Regions from separate parts of the Homo sapiens genome. Here region 1 is linked to region 2. The links are contacts of gene promoters, found by promoter capture Hi-C in blood cells and fetal thymus (Javierre and others, 2016). All regions are on one chromosome and are shown on one strand. Each heading gives the region's core, a stretch centred on a gene start or on the middle of the fragment in contact. The rest is flanking DNA. Distances are from core to core; before and after follow the strand shown. Region 1 overlaps NIPSNAP2 (nipsnap homolog 2). Region 2 holds the start of LANCL2 (LanC like glutathione S-transferase 2).

Evidence for each region. The method cuts DNA at HindIII sites, captures the fragments that hold promoters and counts their contacts. A CHiCAGO score of 5 or more calls a contact.
Region 1: a fragment that was not itself captured here is called in contact with the fragment with the promoter of LANCL2 in region 2 in 1 of 17 cell types (naive CD4 T cells); the score reaches 5.0 in naive CD4 T cells.

What each region holds. Positions count from the first base shown.
Region 1 is chr7:55,979,489-55,984,099 of GRCh38, reverse strand. NIPSNAP2 (nipsnap homolog 2) reads right to left here. Exons shown (of 10, transcript NM_001483.3): 4 at 2,533-2,627; 5 at 1,820-1,890; 6 at 232-372. Among named protein-coding and RNA genes, the nearest start is that of NIPSNAP2, 17 kb to the right of the region's middle. The HindIII fragment of the contact is 617 bases long and covers 2,827-3,443 here.
Region 2 is chr7:55,363,694-55,368,025 of GRCh38, reverse strand. LANCL2 (LanC like glutathione S-transferase 2) reads right to left here and starts at 2,689. Exons shown (of 9, transcript NM_018697.4): 1 at 1,797-2,689. The coding sequence starts at 2,000. RefSeq lists enhancers at 1,225-1,464, 1,495-1,954, 2,575-2,764 and a silencer at 2,085-2,504. The HindIII fragment of the contact is 19,398 bases long and covers 1-4,332 here.

The DNA.
Region 1 (4,611 bases), core at 1,886-4,385, 620 kb before region 2:
ATGTTATTTAGAAAAATATCAAATAATAAGCATTATGTGTAAGGCCATAAAAAGCAAAAGAGCTTAGCCTTGGTGACAGTGTGAGACCCAGTCTTAAAAAAATACATATATATACATATAATGCTAGACATACATCACAGAATGTACACACAAGTTCTGTTGTCAGCCTTACAAAATGCTTGTGCTTTTTCACAGAGGAGTAAAAGGAATAACTTATATTTCTGTACTTACTCGGAGTTGGTAAGACCTGAGTTCATATATATTAGGTCCGGATCTTGGCACAGGCTCATTCCAGAAACTGAACTCCAACAGGAGCTGATTCTTCCTGGAGAGAAGCATGTCACTTCTTGCCTTACGAAATTCCAAAAATTCCTTTGAGTGAAAAAAATGTGCTCATGAAATCTTCTGATACTTACATATAAGCCCATTTCAGTAACATTGATGTTCCTACAGAATACTATAATAGGGTAATCAACAGGTCCCAGTTGGCCTGAGACAGTCCCAGTTTACATCTGTTGAGCTTGCATAATCATTAACAGCATTCCTTTTCATTCTCAAAAGTGTCCAGGTTTAGATGACAAATTACTTGGTCATCCTAATTATTTAGGTGGCAATGCAAACAAATTTAATTTGCTATATTTTTAGATTCTTCTAACAGTGTTTGATGGCACATCAATAGAAGTAGCATGCAGACTACAAAAGAGCAGATAATTCAAAACCTATTTATATTTGTCTGGGAATCTATACAAAAGAATTTCTTTCTTAATGATGTGTGGCTTTTAAATTTCTCCCTATTGACAAACACCTGCTAGTGAAGGGAGGGTGGAAAGCAAAGTCAGCCCAAGATAAACTCTATGTGTGTGACAAACAGTTCCTGAATTAGACAGTTTTAGGTCATCCAGAGCTAATTGTGCCTGCCATGCTGATTGATACACCAGTCACCAGTCTTTTGGGGGTTTTTTTTGTGTTGTTTTTTTGAGGCAGAGTCTCACTCTGCTGCCCAGGCTGTAGTGCAGCGGTGTAGTCTCGGCACACTGCAACCTCTGCCTTCTGGGTTCAAGCAATTCTCGTGCCTCAGCCTCCCGAGTGGCTGGGATTACAGTTGTGCACCACCATGCTCGGCTAATTTTTGTATTTTTAGTAGAGATGAGGTTTTGCCATGTTGGCCACGCTGGTCTCAAACTCCTGGCCTCAACTGATATGCCTGCCTTGGCCTCCCAAAGTGCTGGGATTACAAGCATGAGTTACCGCACCCAGCCCAGTCACCGGTTTCAAAGTACCACCTTATCAGTTTCAAAGCATAATTGACTTTTATAATAAGAACAATAAGAATTTTTTTTTTTTTTTTGAGACAGAGTCTTGCTCTGTCGCCCAGGCTGGAGTACAGTGGCGCAATCTCAGCTCACTGCAAGCTCCACCTCCCGGGTTCACGCCATTCTCCTGCTTCAGCCTCCCGAGTAGCTGGGACTACAGGTGCCTGCCACCAAGCCCGGCTAATTTTTTTGTATTTTTTTTAGTAGAGACAGTGTTTCACTGTGTAAGCCAGGATGGTCTCAATCTCCTGACCTTGTGATCCGCCTGCCTTGGCCTCCCAAAGTGCTGGGATTACAGGCGTGAGCCACCGCGCCCGGTCAGAATTGTTGTTTGAATAGTATTACAACTGTTTATGTTTAAATACAACTTCAGGAGTCCAAACAATAAAATTTCTGTTACAAAAAAATGAAGTTTATTAACAAAAACTGAAGACAGAAAAGTCATTTAATTCTGTACTAACATCTATATATCATTAGTCTAAGTAAACATTTTTCAATATCATTACCTTATTTTCTCTGAGTTTATTCATGACTTCTGTGAGGGCTGGATAGCCTCCTTCATACCTCCAGAGGTGGACTGAAATGCATTTTAAAAGACAGTATACGTTTAGAATTTCATGATACTACTACTTGAAAATGTTCTAGATAGGTATAACGTTAACACAGCACAAAACTGTAGGCTGGGTGTGTGGTGGCTCATGCCTGTAATCCCAGCACTTTGGGAGGCTGAGACAGGCGGATCACTTGAGGTCAGGAGTTCCAGACCAGCCTGGCCAACATGGTGAAACCCTGTCTCTACTAAAAATACAAAAATTACCTGGGTGTGGTGGTGGGCACCTGTATTTCCAGCTACTTGGGAGGCTAAAGCAGAAGAATCGCTTAAACCCGGGAGGCAGAGGTCGCAGTGAGCCTAGATACTCATCACTGCACTCCAGCCTGGGCAACAGAGCAAGACTCTGTCTCAAAAAACAAAAAAACTGTAATGCCCCATGTTTTGGCCTATGAGTTACATCATAATGGTTCAATAATAGATTCAAACATTAAAAACAATTTTAAAACCATTTTCGCAATGAATTGTTGAAGAAACTACTTTAATCATAAAATTAGACTGAGACTTGGAAAGCTTTGATGATAAGAACAAGCATTAAATTAGAAAATTACTTAAGTGTTACATAAGGCTTAAGGAAGAAGTGTTTATTCCAAAGACTTCGCTTCCTACCAGCTTGGTCCTGCTCGCCATACCACGTGTTCCAAGTCCCCACCAAAGTACAAGGGTAGTGTTTATCTTCGTGAATCTTTGGCAACACCTCTTGACTTAAAGAGAAGAAACAGCAACACTAATTAAACAACCAGCAAAATTTGACCAGGTGGACAGCACCTGATCAGTAACAGGAAAAAGACCACCTACTCTGTGTTCTAACAACTGACCTTAGAACATCATGATAAAACGGCATGTGGAGTTAACCTTTTAGCTGAATTATGTTGTATTCCAACACCCTGCTGATCAGAAGCTTAGGTTTCTGATACCCCAACTATCTAGAAGAGTTGTTCAATCAGTATAATGATGATAAAGAAAAACCAAAGGTCCCAGGATTTTGGGAGCTATGGGTCTACTATTTTCCATTTGAGGGGAAAAAAAACGACATCACCAAAAAACATTCTGTTGGTTCCAAAGACAGAAGAATGAGAGACGGGGAATAGTAGAAAAGAACACAGAAGAAATAAGGAAGATGGAAAGGGAGGAAAGTAATGTTCAAGACAGAGGCAGACAACACAAGCAGTACCAGCAGGCAGAGGTAACAGGAGCAGAGAACAAGCTGGCCTTCAGGAAGGAGCAAGAAGACAGCTGGAACACAACATAGTCTGGAAGCGACTCCAACCTCCAATACTCCCCAAGGGCATCAACATGGCAGAAGAATAAAAATTAAAGATACAATGCGAAGCATAAATTATGTTCTACTCAATTCAATGGGCCAAGGGGATGGGAGGGGTGTCACGTAGTCTCGCACCGAACACACCAACCAATTCATTCCCGCGCATTGTGCAGGGACAGGGACAAAGCCATGACAGGTCACGGCAGTGTATGAATTTAACAGGGGTGTCAGAGTGGAGCTTGGTTCCATGGAAGCTTTCCTATGGTATAGATTCTAATGTACAGGGAAAGGCAAAGGGAAGAGTGTAACTGTTTTACACCAAGAGAAAAGCTAAAACCTGCACACTTTTTGAATAGAAAAATTATGATGAAAAAGTATCATACAGATTCAACAATGGATGCAAAAGGGGATCAAGGGCAAGAAATGGAACCTGTTCACACTATTTGCTGACTCTGATATTTAGCTAGTGATCACCACCAGATGCTGGGGCTACAGGACCAAGGGTATGTAAGTACCATGTGCTAACCGACTGCACCACTGGAGCTCCATACGACCAGGGATACATAAATGGTTAACAGAGAAAAGTTCCAAAACGGTCTAAGTCTAACTAACTGAAAACCCATACATCTTTATGACCCAGTATAGTGACCACATCATGTGTACTTTTGGAAGAGTAGCATTTACTTTTTAAATTAGGATCTGATATTAAATGTATCTGATGCGTGACTCATGAATGTTCAGAAATAACATGGGATCAATGAAAATCGAGGACAGGGAAAGAGGGATTCTGCTAGGGAAATGTATGTCCAACATTTCCTTTTCGTCGCATGACATGAGCAGGAATAGACAACCCTGCATTGGAGGCAGTGCCCAGGAGGAAGCCCAGTACACATGATTCAGGTGGGGTCCAGAAAGGGGCCTGGCAACGGGGCCCAGGTTTTTCACCAACACAAAGTCACGCATGGATTTGTAGCCACTCCTCTTTGCTGGGGACCCCAAACCTGCTCTTAGGAGCCCTGGCCTTACCTGAATGGAGATTGTAAGGCAGGCAGTACTTGTACCCAGAACTGGATGGGTTGGGCAGAATCCCATTATTGGGACCCCTAAAAACCAGGCAGGAGTTAAGTCTTTATGTTCTGCAAACAGGGAGCTGCTGAAAGTTTCAGAGAAAAGAAAAAACGTGATGAAAAAAGAAAACAGAACTCAAGCAGATCAATCTGACAAACTTTGGGGTAATGTATTGCAGGGCAGGAAGGAGACACAGGTATAGCTTGGAGCCCAGAAAGGTAGTCAGAAAAAAAGCTACTTGGGAATGGGGCTCGAGAGGCTTGGAGAGAGAGATGGAGAAGGAAACAAGAGAACCAAAATACATGTCCGATGAAGAATGCACAGCTTAGGTGACAGATTCACCACAGAGAACTAAG
Region 2 (4,332 bases), core at 1,440-3,939:
ATGCAGTTTTTTCAATGCTTGCCAGATTTTTATTTTTGTTATTAAAAAATGAAACACTAAGTCACAAATGAAACACATATTTGTATGTAAAAATAGAAGAAATCTAGAGAAAAACCAATATTGAATATGAATCTAAACCGTGTAACTTAAATCATCAAGGGGAAGAGATTAACATTTATTGAGGCCTTTCTTAAGGTACCACATCAGGCAGTTTGCTAGGCAATTTATATGCTTCATCTAATTCAGACACATCCCCATCAGTTAGGACTTGTTCCCACAGGTTTGCTTGCTTTTGGTTTTTGAGACTGCGTCTAGCTCTGTCGCCCAGGCTGGAGTGCAATGGCGCAATCTCCACTCACTGCAACCTCGACCTCCGAGGCTCAAGCGATTCTCATACCTCGGCCTCCTGAGTAGCTGAACAGGCGTCCACCACCACGCTCGGCTAATTTTTGTATTTTTCTTTTGTAGAGACGGTGTTTTGCCATGTTGGCCAGGCTGGTCTCGAACTGCTGGGCTCAAGCAATCAGCCCGCTTCGGCCTCCCAAAGTGCTGGGATTACTGGCGTGAGCCACCGCGCCCGGCCTGTTTCGAGTTTTTAACCACATTCAAGAAGAGAGAGGTTTACAGAAGTCACTTGCCTTAGATTCCATATTCAGACCAATGGCTCTTTCAAAATTACCTTCTTAGTTTTAGCCAAATATGAAATACATGGAGATCCAAGGAGGTGAAGTGGCCATTGGAACACGTACCTCAGTGGAAAAAGAAAACCTGGTAAAGGTACGGTTTTACCAAGCATGAAAACAGTTGTGCTGATATTCAATCTTCTGTTTTATTCCCACTTTTTGCCTCCCACGTTAGATTCTGTTCAGATAGCCCGTGAAGGGTGACAGGGTATGCCATCCCAAAAATATGTCTCTGGCATAAGGATTATTTTAAGCTAAAAGCACTTGAAAAACAGAAGAGTGCTCTAAACTGCCCCCTTTTCTTCATGAAACAAGAGAAAACTCCTGTAAAACATGGCCTCCCTACACCAGGAACAAAGAAACACTCGGCACCAGAGCCGAGCAAGGCGGAGATTTCTACCTAGACGTGGTTCAAGCAGTTCCATCTTCCATTAGCCTCCCCGCACACTTTACTCTCCCACAGCTGCCGCTCTTGGTTCTGCCTAGCACAAAAGTATTTGGGTTTTGCCATTTCTTTGTGTCTTTTTCACGTAAAACATATTCAAGAGATGTATGTTTTTCTGTTGTTAATCTGTTTTATGTCAATGTAACGCTCTGACCCACCTCGCGACACTAAGAAAGTCAAGTTTGGCCTCCCCTTACACCCGCTTCCCATTTCTGGGCACACAGACAGTACGGACAATGCTTCTTTGTCGGCGAGAGCCCAGGGACCAGATATGGCCAAGGAAATCCAGCCTCCAGGCCACTTCTGAGGAGCAGGTAGCCGGCGGAGCGCTCCGCCGCGCAGGGGCGGGAGGTGTCCGCGGGCCTCACGAGTGCACAAGCCCGCATTGCGAAGCGCCGCTCGGGCCAAGAAGGAAAGCGCACTGTCCGCGTATTTCAAAGGCGCGTTGGGGCCAGGAGGGCCGAACTGCTGGAACGTGGTTCATGCAGCTGAAGCCCACGGACCCTAAGCGCGGCTCATCGGGAAGGCCCGGAGACAGGTGCTAGGCGCTATCATCCCGCGCCCTCCCAAGCCCGGCGCGCGCCTGTGACGTCACGCCTGGCGGAAGGTGGACGCTACCACCGCCGCGCTCCCCCTCCGGCGCCTCTGCGGCCAGGCCGCCGACTCACCTTCCCGTCCTGATGAAAAGGGAGGCCGGGCTCATCCGTGGTCGCCGGGGGACGAACACAGCCTGTCTCTTCGGCCGCTCCGGAGGCGAGCAGCGCCCCGGCGGCGGCCTCGTAGTCCGGGAAGGGGTTGACGAACGCCCGTTCCTCCATTTCTGCCTCCCCTCCCAGGTGGAGCTTCAGCCTCTTTGACATGGTCTCGCCCATCTCCGCCGCGGTACGGCGCGCGGGCGGGGACAAACCTCCTGTCCCGGCGCTGCAGCTCGCCCCGCCGCCGCCTCCTCCGAGGGCCCGCGCAGAGAGCGTCCTCTAGGAGGAGCGAGGCCGCGCGCTGGCGGGAGGAGCGGGGCGTCTGAGCGTGCACTGCCTCGTCGCGGGCTGCTCGCACATCAGGCGGCCGCAGAGGCGGTGGGCGCTGTGCCTCTGCCCTGTTCCTGGCGCCTTTGCCCTGCTCCCGACGGAGAGGAGCGGGCTCGCGGGAGCGCCCAGCGGCTCACAGCCTGCTCGCGCCTCCTCGCACCTTCCCCGTGGCCCGCAGAGCCCGTCCGCGGCGACGCGCACGGCCGGGGCTGGAGTCCCGGGGTGGGGATCGCTGCGCCCGGCCAGCCCCCTCCGCGATTTCCAAAGAAAACCGAACGCCCGCTAGGGCCACGCTCCCGCGGGGAAAACCTGTAGAGAAGAGGTCGCTGTCACTCAAGGTGTGTGCGCGTCGCCGACCGGGGCGAGCTCAGCCCCTGGCGCGCCGTCGTCAGCCTGCATTTCACCGGCCCCTGCTGCGCCAGCCCAAAGGAATAGCAGCAGTTCTTTGTTTGATATTAAGAAGAAAAAAAAAATCTCTTCTAAAGAACAGAATTTCAAAACAGTCTAAAACACTGCAAGGCTAGTCTCCGAGGGATGGGGGAGGGAGACAGTCCCTCCTATTCATCACTGTTGGAGGGGGGTGTCTGGGAGGAGGAGCCACAGGCCTTTTTTTTTTTCTTTTTATGTTTTATGTTCACTCCCTTTGTTTTGAATAAATGGACATCTTTGATACCGGGACATAAAATGAAAGCATACTTAATTATCCAAACATTTTATCGACCAGAAAGAGTCCTCCAGTGTTAATTGGCAAAGATCATAGTATGTATTATAAAAAGGACACAAGCAACCAGATCTTTACATTTATGTAATCGTGATGTGGTTTACTTCAGTCTTCATTGGTTCTCTTTATTTTTATTTGTTTGGACCAAATACGTGTAATGATTTCTGCTCCTTGAGGAAAATGTCTTATTTCCGTTTTCTTCCGCTCAGTAAACGTTGATTGAGCACCAAATGGTACTAGGTGATGAAGAAATAAGAGATTAAAAAGATAGTTTTGGCTCTCTGGGGATTCCCAGTTATTGGGTGAGAAAAGCAAGGATTACAGCATAGCTGATGTAGGTGCTTTTCTGGAAGCAAGCAAAAATACACGTTAATGTAAAAAGTGACATGATGAAGAAAAACACAGTGCCGAGCACAGGGAAGGCTCGGTTCCTCCTGCCTCCGTGGCCTCGGTGGAATGATGTGGGAAAGTCTGGCTTCCCACTACCTCTTCTAGTGTCCCCCCAACCCCACAGGGCTGGACATGTGAAACACACCCCACCAAGAACATGACCATGGGAAGGTACAGTGTAGAAGAAAATCATTTTAAAGGGGGTACTCAGCATAACTATCTTCAAAGTTCAGGGAAACAGAACAGATACAACAGGATGAGTGTTATAGCAGCATCCCTTAGCTCCACTTTCCTGCTTTCCCCTTTCCTGGGGTCTTTTCTCCCACCAAATTTTCATACCTAGACGGTGTAGGAAAATCCACTCCAGGAACTACTGATGCCGACATGCTCTAGGAGCCATCCTTATCCCACCACAGGGACTTAACTAGACAAAATAACCCACGGTGATATTCCCCAAAGTCTGGGGAACTATCACGCCTTGGACAGGTACAGCAGAAACGTCCACTGCGGGCTTTGTTAGGCTAAGCCTAGTGAATTCTCAGCTCTCCCTACCCAGGAGGGAGGTGAAGATTGTCTCTTCTTCCTGCAGTCTGCTGGTGGATAACTGGCAACTGTTGGCAAGTACAGAAACCTGTCCTAAAGAAAACCAATATTTTCAAAAGCTGAAAAATCGAAACCCAATTTAAGGAGTCGGCATATTTTCCTAAATGCTCTCTTATCGGCAGATCCCCTGCCCTCCTGGACAGCTCACTGACACTATTTTATGGAGAAGTGGTAGGTTCCCTTTCTTCAGCCTCCTGTCCCCTGGGGGTTTTTTAATGCAGAGCACAGGGGATTCCCTTCTGCGGCCCTTTTACACCCAGGGCTATCTTCCCCCGTGGCCACTCTTGAGCTCTTGAGTAGTACAGAGACCTTGGTCAGTGCCTTGAAATTACAACTTTATTTTCCTTAGGACAAGCCAAATTCTTAGGACACCCTCCCCACTCTTCTGTGTAAGAGAAGGGCAAGAGGACATACATGCCGGCCCAAAGCACACCCAAGGAGTCGTGAGGGCCCCTGGCAACTGAC